2 separate regions of the Homo sapiens genome follow, and region 2 is linked to region 1. The links are contacts of gene promoters, found by promoter capture Hi-C in blood cells and fetal thymus (Javierre and others, 2016). All regions are on one chromosome and are shown on one strand. Each heading gives the region's core, a stretch centred on a gene start or on the middle of the fragment in contact. The rest is flanking DNA. Distances are from core to core; before and after follow the strand shown. Region 1 holds the start of WHRN (whirlin). Region 2 overlaps TNC (tenascin C).

Region 1 (4,887 bases), core at 2,211-4,710:
CTCAGGGAAGAAGTTCCGCCTCCTCCATTTTAAAATTCCACCCACCAAAGAAAAGTCTGTCCTCTTTTCCTCCTGGGGTTAATGTAACACAAAGCAGCCATCATTTTGCCTGTTGCTTCTGAAGGGTCCAAAGGGTCCATGTCAGGCAGGTTATGTGTCCCGCCATGGCTAGAAGTGGGGTGACCCTGGGGCAAGAGCTCATTTTGCCAATGTAGCCACCTCTGTTGGGAAAATGACAGTCAAGAGACAGAGCTGCTCAGCTCACACAGGCTCCTGCACCACAGGCTGCCACACTTAAAGGACAGCTCTGCTCCTATCAACCTCTCCCTTGCCAGCAAGGGTTTATTCTCAGGCTTCAAAAACTATGACATGGAGAGTTTAGGTTTTACTCTGGAAGCAGCAAGAGTAAACAAACAAGCTAAAGGCTGGTGCTGCTCTGAGTCACAGTTTAACAGCACCATGGTGTTACTGAGGGAGATTCAGAGAGAAGATCTGGAGCGGGCTCAATGAAATGGTGGTGGGGGAAGGCGGGGGTGGCAGGCGGGGAGCACTGCTGGTAAACTGAAACTCACAGCCAAGCAGCTTGACCTTTATGGCACAGCTGAGTCTGGGGTGCAAATTGAAGGGACAGTCTGCGTTTTGAATGCCCAAGGTAACTGACAGCCTTTCCAAAGCATATCACCTTATCACCTTGTGACCGTTAAGTTACCCAAGTCTTTTTAAATTGCCACTAAAACTGAATCCACATTTACAAATGATCATTTGCCTCAAGTATCTTTAGTGCATAAATTTATCATCTGGGAACTCCAGACCATTTAAGGCCAAGGCTAATGGACTACTTCTTTATAAATATATGGAATGCTAAACAAAGGGAAAAGATTGATAGAGGGGGAAGAGGAATTGTTGCATGGAAACTCACAACGAGCTTTGCCCACTGCACCCTGATGCAGTATAAACCGATCGGCCTTTTTCCAGAAGCTACAAAGAAGTTTCTGAAAGCCTCAAGGGCTTCCTCCAAAGGGGTTGATGGGCTGGGAAGCAAATGAGGGAAGCCAACATCAGGTGCACAGCCAGGGAGACGGCTCAAGACTCACCTGGACACAGGCCACTGAACGGCACTCAGGAGGAAGTAGTCGTGGGCCTCTGCTGCCTAGGAGTTTCCCAGCAGCCAGCAGGCCCTCAGCTGGAGTTCAAAACACCTGCGCTGGCGGGGAGTGGGGGTTTACAGAACAGTCCAACCCCCTGAGAAGCATTTCTCTGCAGAAGCAGAGCATGTGTCCCTTTTCCCCCAAACTCTTCACTTCTTGTACGCAAAGGAGGTCGGGGGAGGGGGGAAGGGGGAAAAATGCCTGCAAAGGATCCATGAATCCACCCTGGACCCAACACTATCCATCATACTCCAACTGGTTTTCAGTAGCCCTGGGCTGTAGATCAGTAAGCACACACACTCCTTTAAAAAGCATGATTAAATCCCTGGAAGCCTGTTGTCATGAGGTTATATTTCTCAATTAACAAATGGCAGAAAGGACAAACACTCTCAGGGGCTAGGGAATTTATTTTTTACATTCAGGCAGGAGTCTCATTTCCAAAAAGGTTAGGGACCGCTTATTTGGTCCAGTGGCCCCATTTTCCAAGTGGAGAACAAGAGGTCCTGAGAGGGCAAGTGACTTGCTTCAGGATACACAACCTGGTCCAAAAACAGCAGCGTCAAGCCAGTGCACTGTGGATCACACAAACGGCCTCCTCAGGCCACTTAAGAGCTAACAAAACTGTTTCAGGGAAAAACAAAAAACAAAAAACCACAGAATGGCAGTAGCAAAGGCCACCTAATTATGCCAAGCAGAGATTTTATCTCTTTTAATGCTCATAAGAATCCACAGCCCTATTCACACATTGTAACCACACATTTGCTCAAGTATTTGTTACTATCACCTGCACTAGCTTTTAAGCCTCACAAAGGCAAGGGCCATGTCTGTGCAGAACTACGTTCCCAGTGCCTGAGAGCTATTTGCTCTGTAAGCTATACATTCCTGTTTTAAAGTATTAAAAAAAAAAAAAAAGCCCAGAAAGGCCAAGTGATTCATCTAAGGACACACAGCATGGAGTTACTGAAAAAGCTGTGCCACTCTGTCCATACTCTGCCCCAGACTCTCTCCAAACCACAGCCTTACCTTGACGGCCTCCGCGTGGGTCACCCGGGCCAGGGATTTGTCGTTGACGCGCAGAATCTGGTCCCCGACCCGCAGTCCTTCCTTCTCAGCTAGAGAGCCTGGTTCCACCAGAGACACGTAGATGCCCACGCCGTGCTCCGAGCCCCCACGGATGCTGAAGCCCAAGCCCTCGTGGGCCTTGGCACGCCGCAAACTCACCAGGCGCACCTCCCCTGGCCCCGCGCTGTCGGGGCCGCCCCAGGCGGGCTGCCTGTAGGGGGTGGTGGCGGGCAGGTAGAGGCCCTCGGCCGTGTATTGGTCGAAGAGCAGCTGGTCGGAGCGCGGGATGACCAGACGAAGCATGGGCAGCAGGCGCCGCTTGACCGGACTGTCCAGCAGCACGCGCAGGGTGCGCACCAGGTCGAAGACGTTGCGGCGCGCGTGGTAAGCGTTCAGGCAGTGGGTGAACTGCTCCCGCTCCGCCTCGCTCAGCAGCGCGGTCAGCGCTTGGTGCAGCTGGCGCACGTTGGCAGACAGTAACCGCAGCCCCGCGCCCCCGCCGCCGCCCGCCCCGGCCGCCGAGCCCAGCGAGCCGGTGGAGGACGAGCTCACCGACAGGCCGTCCAGCGGCGCGTTCATCTCCACGCCGAGGCCCGGCCGGGCTCTGAGCGCGCGGGGTGTGGGCGGTGCCGCTGTCCTCGCGGGTACTGGCGCGACAGCTGGATCCCCGGGAGCGCGGAGACGACGGCTGGAGCCTGGGTTTGGGGAGCACGGGTACAGTGGCTGGATCCTAGGGGGTCGCGGAGACCGCTGCTAGAGTCCCGGAGGCGCGAAGACGGCGGGGGTCGCGAACCTGGAATCCGGGGGACGCGGAGACGTCGGCGGGTTCCTGAGAGACACAAGAGTTGGCTGCTGGAGCCCGGAGGTGGCGGAGACTGCTGCTGGAGTCCGGGGGGCGCGGGGTCAGCAGCTACATTCTGGAGGGCACGGAGACGACGGGTGGCTGGAGTTTGGGGGCGCCGCAAAGCTGACCTGACTGCCCCGTCACACCATGCCCGGGGCTCCCCCAGCCGGGCGCCCGTTCCTCTAGGGCTGGGGGACCCCAAAGTCAGAAGTTGGGGCGGAGGGCGCTCTAGTCCCAGAGCACTCCGGGGAGTGGCAGCCGGTGAAGCGGCGCGGGCGTCCGACAAGGGGTGCGGGGCATGTCCGGGGCAGCCCCGGGATGCAGCCGCCCGGGGAGCCTCCGCGCCTCTGCGCCGCCCGGCCGCAAGCCCGGACTTTGCGAACTGTTGAGCCACCCGGGCCGAGTCTTCCAGCGAGTTCCGACGCCGTCTCGTTGCCAGCCCGGCCCGGGCCCCGCCCCCTCGTCCCTCCTCCTGCCCGCCCCCTCCCCACGGGCTCCTCAGGAAATGACGTCCCGCCCGGTGCGCCTGGCCGTTGCCTGGAGACGGGGTGAAACAGTCCAGCCCCAGGGAAGAAAGGGGTGAACGCGGCGGTAGGGGTGGGAGGAGCCCCCGCGTCCCCTACCCCGCCGGCAGAGCCGGGAGCGGGGCTCAGAAACAGCGCTCTTCGGCGGTCGCAGCGAGTGCCGACACCAGGATCGCTTTGGAGTAATTAGCCGGCTAGCTAATTCACAATTCGGGGGGAAATCGTCAAGTTTTTTGTTTGTTTGATTTTTGCTTCCAAAATACTGGGCACTTCAGTCTCGGTTTTCTTCCTTACAATGTGGCGCTCCCCTCCTGCACGCGCCCTGACATGACAAATTCCAGGGTTTATGTGGACGGTCGTTGGCCACCTACTGTGTGCGAGAGACGAATACAAGCATAGACTGCTGTCTGCCGGAGTCAACTCCGTGGCAGGGATGGATCAGGCTGGACCCCTTCCCAGTCTCCATTGCAAGGGAAAAGCCACTTTCAGAAATATTATATAAAGTGTACACCCCACGCTCGCGCACACACGTACAAATGAGCGCATATAAAACTGGTGAAATCTGAGTAAGGTGGGTGGATTTTATCAATGTCAATGTCCTGGTTGCCATCGTGTCAACATCGGGGGAAACTGGGTGAAGGGTACATGGCATGTCTATGTATTATTTCTTAGAACTGCATTTGGATCTACAATCTCAAAATAGAAATTAAAAATATACATATTTGAAGTGGCTTGGAGAAAAATCTCTTCTATGCTCTCCCATCCCTAGGCAAAATGGGAAGATACACCCAGGTGTGCCCTGGAGTCGGTCGTCACCCACCCAATCCCCCAAATAAGATTTAAGTAAAATCCTGTGCTTTTATTCTAATGGGGAGCTTCATAGTGCTACACACACACACACACACATACACACACACACCCTACCTCACACACATCCCTTCCAACCTGAGCTGCCTCTCCTAAGCTACTCTTCTATGTATTTTTCGTAAAAGTCTTCCAGAATTTCCATTGCAGAGCCAGCTGACATCTATCCAGGGTAGGGCAAGATGGAGGATTACCTGGAGGATTTGGTTTGTGGTGGACCCAGAAGGATAGATCATTCATTTATTTATTTATTTATTTATTTATTTATTTATTTATTTATTTGGTCGCTTTTCATTCAACGTTTTTGAAGCATCTGCTCTGTGCTGGGTCATGTGCTGGGTGCTGGAGACCCAGGGGAGAAAGATCAAATAAATAGAGTTAAAAACCAGTGTGATACCTGTTGTAATGGCGAGGGAGCCCAGGTTTAGGAGAGGAGAATATGGTA
Region 2 (4,546 bases), core at 387-2,886, 510 kb after region 1:
TGGGCATCTAATTGGCAAAGCCCAAGTTACGTGCCCATGCCCTGGCTATCAAGGGGAGGAGGAAAGAGTATTTTCCTCTGTGGCTTCCTTGGTAGGAGGCAAGGTTCTCAAATTTCCTAAAACTGGAAAGGACTTTGGATGCTGGGAAGCCATTAAATGACCAATAATCACTATAGGAAGAGGGGCAGGAAGTAGAAATCATAATGGATAAGGCCAGCAGGCAGCTGTAACAGTGGCACTCAGTGCTCCCAGGGGTGGGCGAGCCTGCCGGGGTCCCTGAGGAGAGTTAAAGGAGAGGGGGTGGAGGAGAGCCACAGAGCCTAGCACAGGTCCCCAAGTCTAGCAGCAGCTAGGGTGCCATGACTGCTCCTAGGCTAGAAGGGGCAAGTGAGAGAGCACTTTTCTAAACCTGAAGAGAGAGTTGCATGGAGACAGTCAGTTGACAGTGGCTACGGCTCTCTTATGTGGATGCTGACAGCCCACTGTGATGCTGTATAGATGGAGCTGGGCAACAAGTGCCCTGACCCACCCCCACTCATAGTCTCTTCCCTTCAATGTCCTGCTGGCTTTTCCCATTTTGACATCCACCTGGAAGCTGGGAGTCATTGATGCAATGAAAATAGGGTGGCCTTGAAGTACACAGAGCAGGGAGAAGGGGAGCAGATGAGAGAAGGAACAAAGGGAAGGTCGAACACCCTGGAAATTACTTCCCAATAGAGATATTTTGACTGTTTCATGGGGGCAGGGGTAGGGCCCAGGTCTTGAGGGTGAAGTGGAATTTTAAGAGAACTTTCAAGATGGAAGAGGTTTCCTGAAACAAGCCACAGAGCCAGAGGCTGAAGGACACGTTTGAGAAATGATTAGCTCACACTAGAGACTGTGGTCTTTGAATGCCATGGCCTCAGACCCGGTTGCCTGCCCTGTCCCCATTTGGGTTATTACTGACTCCTGTTTGATGTGGCTTCTTCACCAATCCAAATTTGATTCTTGTGTGGCTTGTGGGGAATACCTTCAAGCTTAATTAAGTACATCTACAGTTCTGGAGAGGAGATAGGACTTGGGTTTAGAGACTCACAAGTCAGCAGCCAGTGGAGAGGTAAGCCTCCAACTCGAGGCCTGGTTGCTACAGGGAGCCCGTTTGTTTGGATTTATATAGCCAGGAGAGCGTTGCTATGGCTGAATTGCATGCAACCGTTCTTATGATCTGGAACAGCACATTGTGTATCTAACATGACAGCATTTATTAAAGCAAGATAAACTCAGCAACAAAGGATATGGCTGGAACCATAAATTCCTCTGATCCTTGCTCCAGAGCCATCACATTCCATTTGAATGAGGCCTATCAGCCCAAACTTGACTTATTTTATTAAATAAGTCAATTTTCTGAAAATCCCTAAGAGAATGAACTGGGAATTACTCTCCCCCCATATACCCTTGTTTAAAAAGAGAAATGTTATGCGTTGAGCAGTTCTGACTCACTATATTTGCTGAGGACTAACAGACCTGCCATCCAGGCAATGGGTTCCCCATCACTAGATGTGTTCAGTCTGAGGCTGGAGGAATATGGGCTTGCTCCCTTTTTGGGGACTGCAGTGTAGAGGAGAAGGCGATATTCCTAATAGACATTCTTCCTAGTTTTCAGAGTTCAGGATTGTAGAAGCCTGAGGAAGCATCCAGTTGAACTGCCCCCATATCCCATTCTGCAACCTTCACTCTCTTGCCACAGCACACATTTCCCCAAAGAAGGAGAGATTTTCATTAAGGGACCGGGAAAGAGCAGGAACATTGGAGCCAGAAGACCTGGGTTTAAATCCAAATTCTATTATTTATTGAGTAGTAGCCACAATCAAGTCATTGGGTTTCTATGAACCCCAGTCCATCTCATATAAAGTGATAATGATGATAGCTAACATGTACTAGCACTTAATATACACCGGGTACCATTCTAAGGGCCTCAAATGGATAACATAATTTATTCTTCACAAAAATGTTCTGAAATGAGAAGTATGAGTGTCCCTACTTTACAGAAGAGGAAACTGAGGCATAGAGAGGTTAGGGAACTTGGGAATGGTGGAGCCAAGAATTGAACTCAGGCAGTCTGCCTCTGGGGATCTTAGCCCATGTGTGGTAACAATACTTACCTCAACTATATCATAGAGTTTCTAGGAGTTGCATTAGAAAATGAGTATAAAAGCATCTTTTAAACCATAATCTATTAGTCTTGGAAATACTGAGCAAGATGCTGAATCTCAAGTTGTAAGCTTTTTTTTTCTTTTCTTTTTTTATTTAGAGACAGGGTCTCCCTCTGTTGCCCAGGCTGGAGTGCAGTAGTGTGATCATAGCTCACTGTAACCTCTAACTCCTGGGCTCCAGTGATTTTCCTACCTCAGCCTCCTGAGTAGCTGGGACGACAGGTGCGCACTACCACGCTTGCCTAATTAAATTTTTTTTTTTTTTTTTTTCTGTAGAGACAAGTTCTCACTATGTTGCTCAGGCTGGTCTCAAACTCCTGGGGTTAAGCTATCCTCCCACCTTGGCCTCCCAAAGTGTTGGGATTACAGGCCTGGCCTGTAAGCTTTTCCCAAGTGTGTTCAACTTTATTTAAAAAAAGTGCTTCCCTCTCTCCCAGTCTTTAGTCTCCTTTCCACCCCTCCCACTTGACCACTATCCCTACTTACCTTTCCTATCCCAACATTCCCCGCTTTGTTCAAATGATTGGCTTTGGTGAAATTCAGACTCAACAATTCAAAGCAAAATAACAAACTCAAAAGTACTTGTGCTTTTATTTAAAAAAAAAATACAATCAGGTACTGTCCAGAAATGTTTTGGAAAGAAAGATCTCTTGAAAAATCCTTAGTTTTCATCATCATCATCATCATTATTATATTAATAATATTAATCATATCCTTAAAATGGAAACAGTATTGCTTTTCTGGTTTCTGTTGTATGAAATGTAAAAAAAGGGATGGCTTCCAATGACACATTTAATCTTTGCTAACAAAAATAATGACAATTAATTATACAGCTTCATGTAAAATACGGCTGGTTCTAAAACAAACTACCCCTGTACATCCTACCCCTCTCCCATTCCCAGAGCCACCTAAGAGAAGTAAAAAACTATTGCGATGTTGTCACTGGGAGATTTTTGCTGAATCAAACAACAAAACAGAAACATGTTGGAGACTGATGTCTTTGGTGCAAAGAAAGAAATCACAGAGGAGGTGAGGCCCATGCTGTTGCCGTTGGCCCCAGGGATCCATGGTCAGCTTTGACTCTCACCAAATGCCCAGGTGTGGACCGATGGTTGGGCTGGTTGTATTGATGCTTTGGTAAAATCCTTTCCTCGCTCTGGGCCTTATTCCTCTCTCACCCAGTGGTCCCTGGAATTTATGCCCGTTTGCGCCTGCCTTCAAGATTTCTGAAGTTGCTTGGTCTCAGCTTCATCTCAGCAAACTGGATTGAGTGTTCGTGGCCCTTCCAGTGGAACCAGTTAACGCCCTGTTAAAAAAAAAAAAGAGAGAGAGAGAGAGAGAGAGAAGGCCTCCAGGTTGGTTACTGTTAGGCGAGGTGTTCACTGATCATTGCTATTTAGTCATTCAAACTAAATGAGTTCTGTTTCAATTTGACCATTTGGTATATCACAGCTGCCTCTTGCCTATCTCTCTGTTGGTCTGGGTTGTGGAAACTTTCAAAGGAACTGGCTGAATCTGACCCAGTTTTTCACCTGAGTCAAGAGTCGCCTGAGTTTGCATGGAGCTTTGGTCTTTCCTCTTGAGGCAAAATGGTGGCTGATGAAATCTGCCGTCCTTAGGAATAGGTTCTGAAGGAGTTCAGGTCATTATTAGAAGTTCTAGAATTGAATAGCTACATACATGGTGTGTGTGTGTGTGTCTGTAATTCACGAGATTCCTATGGAGTATTTTGATAGGGGTTTGGTATGGAATAGCAGAACGAACAGCTCAACAAAACACAGTTTTACAATTTGACATATAGGGTTAAATATCAGTGTTCTTACTTGAGAGATAAATAGTCTTAAGTTCTCAATATCTTCTGAGCCTCGGTTTTACTATTTTTTTTTCTTTCTTAAGATCTGATAATGTTAGCCTTGAAAGATGAGATGAAGATTAAATGAGTTTGTAAAGGAGCTATCACAGAGCTGGGCACGTCGTAGGTGCTTGGTAAATATTACTTCCCTAGTCTCAAGTAGGGGGAAATATCCTTGAAATTTTGGCCAAAGCTTTCTACAAGAAAAAACTGTATCTGTGTCTTGGCTTCCAGGTTTCAACTTTGACTCTTCAGCGAAGTCTGCAGATGGTAGAGTCAATCCATGAAACCCCACATGGCCCCTTGCCCCACTGTGGGGAAGTTAATGGCTAGTGAGATGGGAAAAAAATAGAGACACTTTATTTGCTTCTAATTGTTTGGCATTCACTGACATGGGCAGTTTCTGAGTCTTACAGGGATGTGAGGTTTAAGAATGGCTCATTCATTTCATGGGCAAATCCGCTTGTAATTACTCAGTTACAGTGAGTATGGTAGTCCAACA

What was found. The method cuts DNA at HindIII sites, captures the fragments that hold promoters and counts their contacts. A CHiCAGO score of 5 or more calls a contact.
Region 2: a fragment that was not itself captured here is called in contact with the fragment with the promoter of WHRN in region 1 in 11 of 17 cell types (activated CD4 T cells, naive CD4 T cells, total CD4 T cells and 8 more); the score reaches 10.6 in activated CD4 T cells.

The regions. Positions count from the first base shown.
Region 1 is chr9:114,502,013-114,506,899 of GRCh38, forward strand. It overlaps WHRN (whirlin), which reads right to left and starts at 3,461. Exons shown (of 12, transcript NM_015404.4): 1 at 2,172-3,461. The coding sequence starts at 2,789. RefSeq lists enhancers at 1,950-2,840, 2,841-3,731 and a silencer at 3,256-3,555. The HindIII fragment of the contact is 12,008 bases long and covers 1-4,887 here.
Region 2 is chr9:115,017,770-115,022,315 of GRCh38, forward strand. It overlaps TNC (tenascin C), which reads right to left. Exons shown (of 28, transcript NM_002160.4): 28 at 1,806-3,498. The coding sequence ends at 3,388. Among named protein-coding and RNA genes, the nearest start is that of TNFSF8, 89 kb to the left of the region's middle. The HindIII fragment of the contact is 1,245 bases long and covers 1,015-2,259 here.